2 separate regions of the Homo sapiens genome follow, and region 2 is linked to region 1. Evidence: promoter capture Hi-C in human tissues and cell types (Jung and others, 2019). All regions are on one chromosome and are shown on one strand. Each heading gives the region's core, a stretch centred on a gene start or on the middle of the fragment in contact. The rest is flanking DNA. Distances are from core to core; before and after follow the strand shown. Region 1 holds the start of TMEM132E (transmembrane protein 132E). Region 2 overlaps LOC105371742 (a long non-coding RNA gene).

Region 1 (7,505 bases), core at 3,241-5,740:
CTCTCAAATATATCTTCTACCTCCAAAATTCATACGTTGAAGTTCCAACCCCAAGTAACTCAGCATACAACAATCTTTGGAGCTAACGTCTTTAAAGAGGTGAGTAAGTTAAAATGAACCATTTTCATGGGGCCCAAATCCAATATGACTAGCGTCCTTATAAGAAGAGGAAGATAAACCATGATTCATGAACACAGAAAAATGACCGTATGTGAAAACATAGCAAGAAGGTGTCCATCTTCTAGCTAAGGAAAGAGTCCTAAGGGGAAACCAACCCTGCCAGCACGCTGATCTTGGACTCCAGCCTCCAGAACGGTGAGAAAAAAAAACTTCTGTCGTTTAAGCCATTTGGTCTGTAGTATTTTGTCACAGCAGCATGAGCAAACTAATACAGTTGCCTTGCCTTCTAGGACTGGAACCCAGGTCTCTGCTTGGGAAAGCCACATGCTGGCCATCATGCTGCCCTTCACTGCTGACATTCTCCTGTCCCACAAATAGCTATTGGTGCTGGAATCTAAGCTGGGAGCTCAGCCTACAGGGGAAGGCAAAGCAGCCCAGCTGCAGGGTGAAAGTTCGACAATTGCTACAATAGCCACGTGTATGCATAACTGTGTACTAAATGGGGTGAATGTCTAACAGCATGTAGGTGTGAATCTGGGTGCTGGGGAAGGGGAACAAGAGGCTGAGCTACTCAGAACAGTACTGCAGAAAGAACACTACTTTCTCATCAGAGGTGCCTGTGTTCCCAGAGCCCCTGTGCTGGCCTCCTTCACACACTGCCCTCCCCGTGTTGAACAGCCTATTTATGCCTGGTACCCCACTGCCCCTAAACATGTCCACCCAGAAATGATAGCTTTGCTATATATGAAATCCTGGGCCCTTGCATATCACAGTGAAAGTGGCTAAATGGGTTACGTATCTGAGCTTTGGAATCACATATATGTGCTTTTGAGCTGTGACTCTGCTACTTTATAGCTCTATGACCCTAGGCAAGAAACTTGCCTTCACTGAGCCTCAGTTTTCTCATCTGGAAAATGGTTATAATAACAGTACCTACGTAACAGCGTTGTAGTGAGGACTCAGATAATGCATGCAAAATGCTGGGCACAGTGACTGGCACGTAAAAAGCATGGATTCATTAACATTAGTCATTAATATTACTAGGTTCTCTATATGGGTTGGTGAAAGCTCTTGAACTTCTGCCATCTGGGCCTTTCTGTCTTGTTCAACCTATGCATTCCAGTACAGAAGCATTCCATAATACTTCACACACAATTAGAGCTCAATAAAAATTTCAAAGGATTTCATAAAATGACTGAATTAACAGGCCTCCGTTTTTGCAGCTGTAAAATGAGAGGGCTAGCTTAGGAAATCTCGGAACCCCCTTGAGCTGAGACAGAGTCGGATTCCAGGATGATCCCAGGAACATGTCTTCATGATGCTCCACATTGGCTCATCTGATTGTCTCCTGATGGTAGACATTCTGAAAAACAGAGGCATGCTGAAGGACAGATGTCACCTGGCCTATCATGAGGGCAGGTCAGGCATGGGAGGAAGTGGGTGCCAGTTTATGTATGGGTCCTTGATAAGCATCCATGTAGGGCACCGGGGCCTGGGACAGAACCCCACTTGCTGCCTGGCTTCTTGGCAGGAGGACAGGGTTCTTCCAGGCATCACCTGGGAACTGGTGACTGAGATAACCTCCAACCATTGCCAATCCTCTGTCCAGAAGACACAAACAGAATGGAAACAGCAGAGACACTACCACCTTAAGTTGATAAGGTGCTCATCTGGGATAGAAGAGTACACACATGCCAGGTCCTCTCTCCAGCCCGGGCTCCAGTTGGGGTGGCTCCTCTGACTTCCCCTTATCTAAGCTCCAGTGGCATTGCTGTTTGGGAATCCGTAACTAGGACTAACAGGTGAGACCGAGGGCAGTCTGCTGGGGTAGTAGGAAAGGCAGAGGGAATGTATAGAACCCCTTTCCAGGTAAATGACATGCAGGATTGGAATAGCTGAAACAACTGGCTGTCTACCTTGTGCCAACTGCCTTCTCTCTGAGCAGTAGGATTTACACTGCTGAGAATGACAGGTCCATGGAGCACTGCAGGTTGTAGTCATATTTTATTCTCCAGGTGGGCTATCGGCTGCCCTTCACTTCCCTGAGGCAAGGAGGAGGAAAATCTGGCATTTGGAGAGTCAGAGGATCATCAGGCCCATGGACTTGGCACAAGGCTTCAATCCAGGAAGGGTAGATCCATATCGGAGGTACAGGAAGAACTTGAGGCTGAAACTGTGTTCTCTAAAGATAGCAGGCTGCTCCCTCGCCCTTTCCAACCACAGGCCTCAGTCTTCTCCATAAGATGAGCGAAGTGCATGATGCCAAATCACACCACAATTGCAAGCAATTAGAAGCTTAGTGTCTGCCTTCCCCTCTAGAAAGTTAGTTCCATGAGGACAAGAGCTGGTTTTGTCCTGCTCACTGTTGTACCTACAATGCCTGTGATGTTGGAGATATGCACCATACTACTGTGAAAGGGAGGGACAGAGACAGGGAGGGAGGAGGAGAAACTGAATCACAAAGGAAGGTCACATAAGAGCTATGGGGTGGGGTGAGATGGGGTTGCAGAGAGAAGAATTCTATGTCTGAGTCCCTGCCCACCCTGACCAGAACACTGTGCTATTTCCACAGATGGCTGGGAGAGATGCAACATTGCTGCCCCTCAGACCCTAGCGTCAACTGGGAACATTTGAGGAGAAAGGAAATTTGATCCACAACACAGGGTAAGGTGTGTCTTGGGCTCAGAAAAGCACCTTGTCTCTTCCTTCTGGCCATGCTCAGGCTCCATGACCCTTCTGATGGGGTGCTGGGCAGGGATGGAGGGCCCTCCCTGCTTCCTTCCTCCTCTTCCTGAAGCCCTCCTCTGCCTCAGGAGGTGGATCTTTCCCCCTTTCTCCCCCACACAGAGCCTGATTGCTAGCTTGCTTCTCAGGGGGTTGGTGAATAAGCCCTTGGGTGACATTAATTGCCATCAGGCATTAGGGGCCTAATGAGAATAATCTTCTTTGACGACTCCAGCACCTTCTATCCCCAGGGCCTCCAAGAGCTGGCCAGCTCTCCTCAGGCTGCACCTCCCCCCAGCTCCAGACAGATGTAGGGGTGGGGGAAGGGCCAGAGCAGCCCTCTACAGGCCCCAGTACCAAGCGAGGCAGCAACAGCCAGCAGCCAGGGAGGAGGAAGCCTTCCATGAAAAATGCAAGCACATTTTCCAAAAACAAAATGTCACCGTCCTAGATGAAAGGAAACTCTCAGGGTCAAGAGGGCTAGCATGGAGTCAGGCAGATGGAGGGCACGGTTTGAGTGCCCCAGCTGGCTTTGCTCTGACCTGGCCCCACACTCTCACTCCAGTTGAGTGCAGAGGTATGGAAGGGTGACCCTCAAGATCCATATCCTCCCCAGTAGGGATATGTCCATGGGATTGAAGACCCTGTCCCTCCAGAGCAGGGTAGGATTGAAATTCACCCTCTGGGGATTGGAGTTGATACCCAACGAAGCTATAAAATCATTGCCATGGATCCGATGCCTGGTTGACAGATGAGGTGTGAAGGTTGACTTGCCGGGTCTGATCTAGGTTGCACTCTAATGGAAAGGGCCTGATGGTGGGAACAGATATCACTCCAGCCACCCCTCCCGCTAGTCAGCAGGTGCCTGGGTGAGTATGCAAGAGGGGCAGTTCCCCACCCCCACCTCATGCCTCTTTAAAGGCTTGCTAAACAACCTGTAGGAAAGCACTGTCCCCTCCTCTTCTCCGTCTTCCTTCCCCAGCAACAGAATAAATAGGTTTCCCACAGCTGCGCCCCGGACCCATCCCGCACGAAGCTGAGCCCCAGAGCCCCCGCGGCCCGAGAGGAGCTGGGCACAGCAGCGAGGCTGATTCCCAGCCAGTGCCCAGCGAACTCTGGGGGTGGGGGTAGGGTGCCCCCTACCCGCGCCTCTGGAAGAGCGGCTGCAAAACACCTCCGGCGCCCGGTGGGGAGCGTGCATCCTTTGAAAAGGGACATCAGTGACTGCGGTGGCGTCTACCCTGGAGAAACGCAGCTGAGGGAGGTGGAGGCTCCTCCCGCCGCAGCTGGCCGGCCCCATTCGGGTCCCAGCGCTAGCCGGCGTTGGGAAGGAAAAATCAAACATAAAATAGGGGCGAGCGGAATCGCGAGGTCGGCCCTTGGCCCGAGTCTCATTAAGGAGCCGCGCGCGCCGCCAGGCTAGGAATGCGGAATGGACACGTGGACAGAGGAGGGGGAGCTAGGAGTCGGGGAGTCTCCGTGGCGCGCGAGCTGTGGGCCGCGCGCTCGGGGGCCACGTGACCACGGGGAATCTGGGAGGGGTGGGAGTGAGCGCGCCAAGCTCGGCGCCCGCTTCTGCCCGGGTGGGCGCTGAATCCCGGACGGAGGAGGAGGGCGGGCGAGCGCGAGTGTGTGTGTCTCTCTCGAGTCATTTACGGCGGAGCAGCCGGCGCGAGCGCCGAGGAGGCGGCGACGGCGGCGGCGGCTGCTTCGTGCAACTGTGGCTTCCCCCACCTCCTCTTCCTTTTTGCTCCTCGATTCTTCTTCTTCCCCCACACACGTCCATGGGGAGCCGGCTCCCCTGCCAGCACCTCCTCTCCTCTCGGCCCCGTAGGCACCAGCTGCCGCTTCCCTGGCCGCAAGCTGCGCAGGTGCCGGCTGCCCTGGCCCCTGGCGCCGCGCCCGCGTCTCACCGCCCGCAGCCCGGACTGGCGCGGCGATCCGCTCGCCCAAACTGACTCGGAGGGAGCGGGAGCCGATGCCCGGCAGCATCGAGACAGCGGGCGAACGGGCGTCCGGGGACAGGGTGGGGGCGGCGGGGAGGAGGCGTCGGAGACTCTGAACCCCAGAAAAGTTCAAGGTTTGTGCAGGTTCCCCCAGGGAAGGCGAGGAGCGAGGCGGGGCAGCGCGCCTCTCTGCCGAGACAGCGAGACCTTAGCGGGGTGGCCCGGAGCTGCCGTGAGCTGCAGGAGCCCCTCTGCATCTTACAGCGTTTATGGTCATCAAGCTGGAGTCGACGTCCTGGGCAGGAAGGGCTCGGGGCAGGGCGCATTAGCCGGCTTTCTCGCTCCCTCGCTTCTCCAAGCCCCATCTACATGGGGCAGCCCGTTCTGGCCGCGCCACCCTTGCCCCAGCCGCCGAGCGGCTGCCTGGGCAGGAGGCGCTGAGCCGGCCTGTGTGGAGCCTGGGCCCTGATCCAGACTGGAGAAAGCGCGCTGGAGCGGAGGAGCGAGCCTTGCGAGGGGACAAACATCTGGCCGCCCGCCTCGGGCATCCGGTCTGGGCGTCGCCTAGGGTGGTGGCGACCGGCGTCGCCAGTTTCAGCACCGCACGGAAACTTTTCCTTCTCCAGATGGATTAAAGTTGTCTGGATTTTCTCTTTCTTTGAGAAAGACAGCATTCATTTGCACCTGACCTGGGATTTTTATGCTGGGCTGCTGCAGGGGCTTGGAGGAAGAAAGCGGCGCTATCCATGTGCGGTTACTACCGAAACCGAGGAAACTGGGGATTGCGTTGGAAGTCGGCACCCTCGAGTGAGTTCGGATTCGAGCTGGGCCGTGAGGCCGGGAGATTCAGCACTGGGCTCTAGGTAGCCCCCGGGACGCCCGCGGCCACCGGGCTCCGGACTGCACGTGCAGCTCCCCCCGCGCCTCGCAGATCCTGCAGGGGGCACCAGCTGGGGGAGGTGGAGGCTCCTCCCGCCCGGAGCTGCGCCCCCACCGGCTCCGAGGGTGTAGCCGCCAGCGCCTGGGACGCCCCCTCCCCGCAAAGTGTCCCCGAATTGCACTCTCTGGTCCCGGAGCTGCATCTGAGACAGCCGGGCGCCACGGCAGCCCTGAGTTGGATGTGACCAAGCCCAGCCTGGGGCCAAGTCGTCGTCGACTGTTGCTCTCTCGGACCCCTCCCGCCCCCGCCTCGGCCATGGCCCCGGGGATGTCGGGCCGCGGCGGCGCCGCCCTGCTCTGCCTCTCAGCGCTACTCGCCCACGGTAAGTGTCGCGGCGCGGACTGGGGGTGAGGATGCGGCAGGCGCCACTGGAGGGGGTACGGGGAAGACTGGGGAGAGGAGCACCCACACCCCCTGGACTCGCAGCCGCCACTCCGGGTTTGGCGTCTCTGGCTGCAGCTCGAGTTACCGCCAGCCCCCGAGCCCTCCGGCGAGCTCAGCTGAGGGGACCGAGCCCGGCGCCAGAAAAGGGTGGGGGGAGGGTGTCGCTCCAGTCCTCTCCTGGTTATAAAGAAGGGTTCGAACCCGAAGGTCTGGGGTCGTGTCCGCCCACGGAAATCTAGAGGGATCCGAGGGATCCTCCGGATCGCGTCCAGGCCGCCCCCCGCCCCCGTCTCTCCCTGCAGCCGGCCGGGCTGGGGGCTGTTGGGATCCGCCGGGATCGCGTCTTTCCTCGCCCCGGGCGCGCAGGCCGGTGCGGGGCCGCGCCGCCCGTCGCCTCGCTTCCTGCGGCGGTCCTCGGGAAGGGAAGTGGACTGACTCCGGGCCGGGGAGCCGCCGCGGCTCGCACGCCCGCGGTCCTGTGAGCTGCATCTAAATGGCCGGCTTAGGCGAGCCCGGAGGGCGGGGGTCTGGGCACCCGCACAGGCCGGGGCGGTGGGCCGCGGGCCGCGCGCGGAGGGAGCGGGCTCCGCGCTCTCGCATTCTGCAATCTGTTGCGTCTGCTCCCCAGGCTCGCCCCGGGCTCCGCGGTAAAGGGGGTGGGAGAAGGAGGGATTGAGGTTGGCGCGCTTTGGCGGTGGGACAGCGGGCATACGGGTGGGGGGCAGCGGGTTTTTGAACAGCCCCCAAGAATGGGAAATCAGACCAGAGGGAAGGAGGCTGCAGCGGGCCTTCCGCAAGCTGGAGACGCTCCAGGAGGCGAGGGGAGCAGACCGAGGTGGGAGGGAGAGAGCTCCGAAAGGAGAGTGGAGAAGCGGGGCCCTCTGCTCCCTCCTAACGTGAAACCAGCCGACCTGGGATACATTTTCTTAACCAGCAAGGCGTGGCGGGGTTGGGGGGCGGGGGTGTTTCGATGCTCCACGCTGAGGGGTGAGCCTCAGGCAGAATGGAGGGCGCTTAGATGGAGGGGGCAGTGGGCTCTCCGCATTGGTGGAGCGCCCTCGGTGTGCCGGGCTCAGCTCTTGCCCAGATCTGCCCAGTCCCTAAGAGCCTGCTCAAGCTCGCCAGGAGTGTGCCCAAGGTCTCTAACCAGCGGCCTCTTTCACCCTGACCAAAGCGCATTCTCAAGGTTGAGAGAATAAGAAAAAGAGGGGCTCTCGGAATCGTAGGGTCCTGGGGCTAGGAGGGGGGCGGGGAGCAGGCAGACCTCCCTCTATGGGTGGCTTGGTTATTCCCGGCTGAGGTAACACCAGGGGGGGTTGTTTTGCGTTCAGTTCACCAGAGACAGCTAACCTCAGTTCTCTATGGGAGGAATAGGCAGAGCAGCGAGCCAG
Region 2 (7,505 bases), core at 2,003-4,502, 230 kb after region 1:
CCTCAACCCCCTCTGTTGGGTGAGGTTCAGGCTCCACGCTGTCTGCAGGATAGTGTCATTCATTTTCTCAGCAAATATTCACTGAACACTTACTATGTGCTAGATGGTGGTAGGTACGGGAGATGCAACAATGAATCAGTCACAGCCCCTGACTTCAAAGACCTCTCAGGCTGACATTCAAGGTCATTTACATTTGGTCCAGTCTCACCTCTCAGTATTCTCCTTCTCAAACCTCCTCTAGCTCAGGATGGTTCTTCTATCCCTCCTTGATTTTACTCATGCTAAATCCTTTGCTGGGAACCCCTCTCCACTCTTCACCATCCTCATAAATCCTAAAGTATGAAGAAGAGAAAGAAAAGAAAAGAGAGAGAGAAGAGGAAGTGGAAGAGGAGAAAGGATTATCAGAAAATATAAATCCAGCCCAACCTTCAAGGGTATAGAGAAACCCTGAAGTTTCCTATACCAAACTCTATCCTGTTGGTTAGTATCTAGATGCCTACTGTCTAGTGAGAAGGTCAGTGTTGGGGTCGCCTAAAGGTGAAGTCCAGGCAACTTCCCATTCATCCTGGAGATGACCCCCTGCCCTTACCATGCACACTCATCCTTCCTCCTGGTTCACCCTTCAGCCACTCAGGCTGCTAACTTACTCCTTGTGCCTTTCTGGAGGCAGTAAGCCAGAATGCCCAGGTGAATGGCTGGCTGAGCCAGTAAGTAACAGACAAACCTACCATACCTGGTATTTTTCCCTAATTGGATTAAGAACAAAATATAACTTCCCTTTGTTTCCTCCTAATGCACGCTACAGATCAGTGCTCCTAATAATTAGACCCCAGCACTTCCTATGCAGGAACACAGGGAGGCCAGTGGGCTGCATCTGGAGACACATCCCCTCTCTTTGGCCCAGCACTCAGCCCCTGTTCCTAACCACTGCCCAGCCCTGTATCTACGGCATGTTCTCATGAGAAGGTAAGAATGAAGGCTCAAACTGCAGGGGACAGAAGAGAGGCATCAGGCCTTTCTTTGTGGAGCATTCACTTCCCTTGACCTGCACTCACGTCCCTGAGCTCTTGGAAGGGAAGACATCGTGCTGGGGCATATAGACTCGAGTAGCTCTTGGCCATAGGGGTAGAGGATACCACCCACACTCCCTACAGATTAATCCTCCTCTCTCCCCTGATTCCCAGCCAAACTTCATCCATAGCCACCAATACACTCTGATGAGGGAGGTTGGATCTAAATCCTTCTCCGTTTGATTAGGAGTTCCTGATGGAAAAGAACGATGGCTCTGCAAATAACTGCAAGCCCCCGTAGGACCCAGGCCAAGACTCCTCATGTCTTCAGATTGGGGCTTCTGTGAGTGGAGGCCTTTATCCCTTTTTCGGGCTGGAGCACCCACACAACAGGGCACTTCCTCCCCCATCAGATTGGGAGTTCTGTCGGGAAAAGGTCTATTCTCCCTCACCGGCTGGAGGCTTCCCCAGAACAAGGCCTACTAGATTTGGTTAAACAGGTATTTGCTTAACTCCTACTGTGTGCTGATGTGCTGGATACTTCCCTGAACAAAGACTGAGACCTGGTCCTGGCCACAAGGAGGTGACAATGCAGAGGAGGAGACATGGCACCCTGCATAAGACCAGCAGCTGAGGTCGGGGCTCAGCTCTTCCCATCCTGACAGCCATCCGAAGGAAATAACTAAGAGATGGATGCATCCAGAACAGGGAAGCAGGGTCTGGCCCCTTTCTGCACTGGCTGGGCAAATCCTGTGACCTTAGTTTTTTAAACCATAAAATAGAAATGGCAGAGCCTGCTTCATAAGAGTCTTGTGAGGCTCCTGCAAAACAACAGGTAAAGCCAGGGGGTTGGGTGCTGACACAAGCTTGAGGGGCTGGGGAGGAGCCCTGGCTTGCAGCATGTGTCCATTTCCTTGATTTCAACACTCCCCTCAAGACTTGTTTCAAGATACAAATATGATGTCCCTGAAATGGGAGCAGGGAAGAGATGTGCCAAATTGGCTTTCAGGAGCTGGTGTGAGCCGGCCCCAGCACATCGCTCCTTAGAACATACTATATGCTCAGGAAATGGTGAGCTCCTATTAGTACCTGATCAGGCCATACCTAGCCCCCTATTTTTTCAAATGTCTGAGCATCTCCCTTAAATGGGATATGAACAAGCTGCAGCATTTTGGAGAAGGATGACCTAAGGATGGAACAGTAGACTGGCTATTCCCCAAACCGTGTCCCATTTCCTCTTGGGCACACCACCAGACTCTATTTGCAGCCTCTCTTGCAGGTAGGGCAGCCATGTGACTGAGCGCTGGCCAAAGGAATGTGGGCAAGTATGACGTGCGTCCCTTCCAGACACAACCCATAAAAACCTCCCAGGCAGCCTTCAGGTTCTCTCTTCCCCATGCACTGTCTAAATGGAGAGGAAAGAGCTCCAAGATGGAAGGAAACAGGGATGTGGGATTACTGCACAGAAGGTTGCCCACTGAATACCTGCACTGGACAAATACGTGAGTGACACATCAACTACTGGTAATTAAACCACTGAGATTTGCAGACAGGGTCTTTCTTACAGCAGTTGGCTTATCCCAACTAATACAGGTTAGCTCACAACCTCACCACATGACAAACAGCTGAGGAACTGTTGCCCTGTAGAGGAGGAGGTTCAGCAGAGAACATTGTACACTGTCCTTAAATACTTTATCCATCATCTTAGAGCAGAGTTGACCCAAGTGACATGAGACAGCAGCTCTAGGACCAGTGGCAGGAAATTCCCAGGGATGCAGATTACAGCTCCACACACAGGAAGGTAATGTTAACAGAGGCACAACAGGTGACCTTAAGAGACAGCAAGCTTCTACTCCTGGCTGTGCAAACAGGTGAGAATGTTGCAGAAGCCACATGAGCATCAGCTAGCAGCTTGACATCAGTGACATAACGCAAAAACATTCTCAAGACCTTAGATTCTGTGATCTTATGATCTGTCATCCCCAACTAGGATGCTGCCTCCTCCATCAGTCTAAGATCTCCCTAGGCCTGGGCTCGACACTCTCAGGAGACCAAAAACCCTCAGGACAAGAATGCTAACTCTTTTTCTTTTCTTTTCTTTTCCTTTCCTTCTTTTTTTTTTTTTTTTTTTTCTTTTCTTGAGACAGGATCTGGCTCTGTCTCCCAGGCTGGAGTGTGGTGGCACCATCTTGGCTCATTGCAACTTCTGCTTCCCGGGCTCAAGCCATCCTGCCACCTCAGCCTCCCAAGAAGCTGGGACTACAGGCACACATTATGATGTCCAGCTTATTTTTTTGTATCTTTTGTAGAGACAGGACTAACTTTTTTTCAGAATCTGCCCTAGCTGCCCCTGGCCTCAGCACCCGTTAAGAGCCCCATGTTCAAATGTGGGGGCCAGGCTTAGTGTTTAGGGAAGACATGGCTACTGGGGAAAGCTGGATTTGAGTCCCCAGATCCTACATTCCTGAGCAAGAATACACGGAGAAGTCTAAGTAGCAGAGAGGCAGAGGGAGGGGATTGATCTGAAAAATAATTTGTGGTGGAGGAGAGGAGGGCTGGCTGTTCCCATGTCCGGCAAAAGCAGTGATCTTCAGTTCTCTCAGCATTATCCAAGGATGAAGGCTCAGCAAGAGAGGCCTTGGCTCATCTCTCTGGAGGCCTTCTGACATGACAGTCTGGTCTGTGTTCTATCAACATAGGCACCTGTGCACATGCACGAACACACACGAACGCACACACACAAACCTTTTCACCTCTGTCCTGGCCTCCAGAGAGAGGCCTGCTATCTCCTCAAATATTTCCCAAAGCTAAGCTCCCAAAAGCACCCCGAGGTTTCCAGAAAATCTGGGGGCTGGGCCTGGGGAAGTGGCAGGGAAAATCCACAGAGAAGAAGGCTTCAGGGCATTTTCCTGTAAGAGTCATTAAGACATATTAAATTCTGACGCTTCCTCCCCCTGCCTATGCCAGCTTCACCTCCACGCAGGCCTCCCCATCGCCACGTACAGAACATTAGGGCTAAATTGAATTAGAATAATTAACTTTTGGTCACACTTTTAATTTGGTGCAGGAAATAAGAGAGCTAATGGAGATTAAGCAAGGCTCTGACTCCAGAGACCAGCCTGGAAGCTGCACGGGGAGGCCCTGGCTCTGGAGTGGGGGAAAATAAACAGCCAGAGAAAAGAGGCTGAGGCAGATGTGTGCTGTGTGAACTGGCAGGTATGTGCATGTTTGTTGATGCCTGTATTTGTGCTTGTGTGTGTGTGCCCTTATATATGAAAACATGCTCTGTAGCATGTAGGTAAACATGTGCATGTACACACGTGTCTGAAGGTTTGTACACATGAATGTCTCTTTGTACATGTGTGAGTAGGAGTGTGCGTGGGTGTACACACATTGCTTTAAACCCTGGGCAAGTAAAACTCCTTGATTTTTATAGAATCCTAGCAGCTCTGACTTAGAAGCCACCTTCATAAATATCTTCAAACCCAGTGTCTCCCCACCTGCAGCTAGAATCTCTTCTACAACATTTTCCCCAGGAGAGCACACAACATCTGCCCACACTCCTACACTGATGGGGCATTCACTACCATGGAAGACACCCTGTGGAGCTCTGATTGTTAGAAGCACTTCCTTCCTGCAACATTCACCCAGAGCCCTAGATCCAACTCCAGGATCACACAGAAGAAGCCCAATCTCTCCCCATGGCATCCCCTGAAGATGATGACTGTTCCCTTCTTCATAGTCTCTTCTCTGGGTTAGAACTCCCCCAATTGTCTTCTAGGACTTCACATGACATGTGACATTGGCACACAGCACCTAACACCCAATCACATGCCAAGCATGAAGAGTCCAGCTGGGATGGCACTCATGCCAGTGGGTGCTTAAGGATCATCTGCTCAGGCCATAGTCAACTCAAACTTCACATGCATCAGAACATCCGGTGTGATTTTTGAAAATGTAGATTCCAGCCAGGCGCGGTAGCTCACGCCTGTAATCCCAGCACTTTGGGAGGCCGAGGCGGGCGGATCACAAGGTCAAGAGATAGAGATTATCCTGGCTAACATGGTGAAACCTCATCTCTACTAAAAATACAAAAAAATTAGCCAGGTGTGGTGACAGGCACCTGTAGTCCCAGCTACTCAGGAGGCTGAGGCAGGAGAATGGCATGAACCCAGGAGGCGGAAGTTGCAGTGAGCCGAGATCACACCACTGCACTCCAGTCTGGGCGACAGAGCAAGACTCCGTCTCAAAAAAAAAAGTAGATACCCAGGCGCTTCTCCAGGAGCTCTGATTCCAAAGGTCTGTAAAGGGCACTGGTCCTCGACATTTTAAACAAGCAGCCAGATGGTTCTGATGCAGGAGCCTATGAACCATTATTTGCCATGGTCCCATGGTCTCATTTTACAGATAAGGAGACTGAGGCCCACAGAGAGGAAGAGATGTTCAGAGTAAGTTAGAACCTAAGCCAGAGCTGCATCCTGTCTTCTACTCCCTGGTGCTTGTTCCTAACACCAACCCCAGGATGGATAAACAGAGACTTCATCCCTGCAAGCCCACATTCCCCTGGGGGAGCCCATCCCCACCACCACCACAGAGACAGGCCCAGATCTAAAAGAGAAGCATCCTTCCGCAAACCCTACATTTCCATCTGGTCCCACAATTATCTCTGGCCAGGGTGTCAGGAAGAAAGAGACAGGGATCCGCAGCCCTGTGTCTGCTAAATAAAGTGTCCTGCACCCTGGAGGAGCTGAGATTCATGGAGGTCACTGCTACGTTGGAGGGAAATTCCCATCAGTATATCAGAAGCAGATTGGGGTCAGGACCCCAATGAGGATGCCAAGGTGTGGGGAAGGAGCCAGGTGAGAGAAGGCCAGTCTGGAGTTTCCAGTGCAAGAAGCCTAGACCTGCAGGGTCCGGTGTCAGCCAAGGCCTCATCCCCGCTGAATCCGTTACCTCCCAGAGGGCCTGGCCACATGCATTGGCCACACTGACCTGCTGCCATCCACCCAGGGGCCCTGATGACCTCTAGTCATAAATGGGGACTGAAGAGGAGAGGTGAGGCCTCAGATCACATAGCTTTTCAGTCCAGGCTCCCAGCTCCCAGTCTGTGTCCTTTACAGTGCACCACCCTCATGCCTTGTGCAAGAAGCCAGCACCAATGGGAATTGTCACAGGAGGCTAGACGATGAAGACAGACAAATAACAAGCCTAATGTCAGACCAGATCTGCTCCCAACAAAGTCAGGATAAAATCAAAGTCCCAGAGACCAGGACAGGAAAAACTGTGTTTCACCACCAGTGACCTTCCTCATTACCTGCAATCATTGTCTCCCTGTCCTGGTCCCCAAGGCTCCTCTCACTTTCTAGGATTAAGCGAGAGTAGGCAGGCATCTGCAAAATTCAGAGCCCTGTGGGTACTGAACACAGGAGAATAGAACAGAAGAAAAGGGAATTTTGCTTCTTTTGAGCTTGCTTCCTGATTTCATTCGACCTGAGGTCTGATTTCTCTTAAGCCAATGCATTCCATTTCCAAGGCTGTTTTGAAGGTGAGATTCCCCAGAGGGAAAGTGAGGCATCCCTGACTGCTTCTGGAGTCACTCGCTGTCATGATCACTCACCACCAACACCATTTTCTCCCCAGCCTTGGCCCCCCAGCCCTCTGCTTAAAATGTGTCTAGCGCTAGAGAGCTGGGAGCAGTGGGGCTCTGATGAAACAGTGAGCGAAGAGTGAAACGAGGGAGGGGACAGCAGGCTCCAGCCCCCTCCCCACCCCACTGCAACAGCAGGGGTAGAGGGCCGGGCTGGGTAGGTCTGTCTATCTCTCCAGCTGCTGGGAAGGGTGCAAGTGACGAGGGCAACGAGGGATCCCTGCCCCACCTATGGGAACCGGTTGGTGGCTTGGCGGGAGTGGGTCCAGGTGGGAAATGGGTGCTGGTGTTTCTGACCAAGTTCCACCCTCACTGAGTTCTTGGGAACAAACGGCTCATTTCTCAGGGTCTCACGTCCCTAGTTTTCTCCCCGGCCCTCTCTCTGGTGAATGTAGGGGAGGAAGATGAGAAGTGGACAAGAGACATCAAGGAATTGTAACTATCTTAAGGTCAGAAGGACAGGGTGCAGGCGCTGCCTGCAGCTCACTACGCACATGGCCCTGGACGGGTCCACTTGTCCTTGGAGCCAGTATTCCCTGTAGGTGTAGTGGTGGCTTATTGCTGACCCTTGCATGGCCTGATGCCTCACATTCTATTCCCCATCCACTGGCATCTTTCATTCCTTCCCTGCTTCCTGTCTTTGCCCCATGATGAACGTTGAAGTAAAATCCTGAGTGCTAGAAAAGGCATGTGCTCGGGACACTGACTTCTCCAGTGATCAGGGGAGGCCCCTGAGAAAGCAACTTGGTATCTGAAACCTGAAAGGTGAGTGGGCTTGCTCCAGAAAGAGGATTGCAGAGGAGTGTTCCAGGCGGAAGAAATAGCTTATTCAAAGCCTTGAGGCAGGA

The links. The method cuts DNA at HindIII sites, captures the fragments that hold promoters and counts their contacts. A contact is called where the count stands out against the background at its distance.
Region 2: a fragment that was not itself captured here is called in contact with the fragment with the promoter of TMEM132E in region 1 in 1 of the 25 tissues and cell types used here (H1 embryonic stem cells).

What each region holds. Positions count from the first base shown.
Region 1 is chr17:34,575,092-34,582,596 of GRCh38, forward strand. TMEM132E (transmembrane protein 132E) reads left to right here and starts at 4,491. Exons shown (of 9, transcript NM_001304438.2): 1 at 4,491-6,052. The coding sequence starts at 5,986. TMEM132E-DT (TMEM132E divergent transcript) reads right to left here and starts at 4,278. Exons shown (of 2, transcript NR_160787.1): 1 at 3,780-4,278; 2 at 1-2,529. RefSeq lists enhancers at 3,443-3,979, 3,980-4,515. The HindIII fragment of the contact is 28,166 bases long and covers 1-7,505 here.
Region 2 is chr17:34,809,443-34,816,947 of GRCh38, forward strand. All of the region lies in intron 3 of LOC105371742 (a long non-coding RNA gene), which reads right to left. Among named protein-coding and RNA genes, the nearest start is that of CCT6B, 150 kb to the right of the region's middle. The HindIII fragment of the contact is 4,882 bases long and covers 812-5,693 here.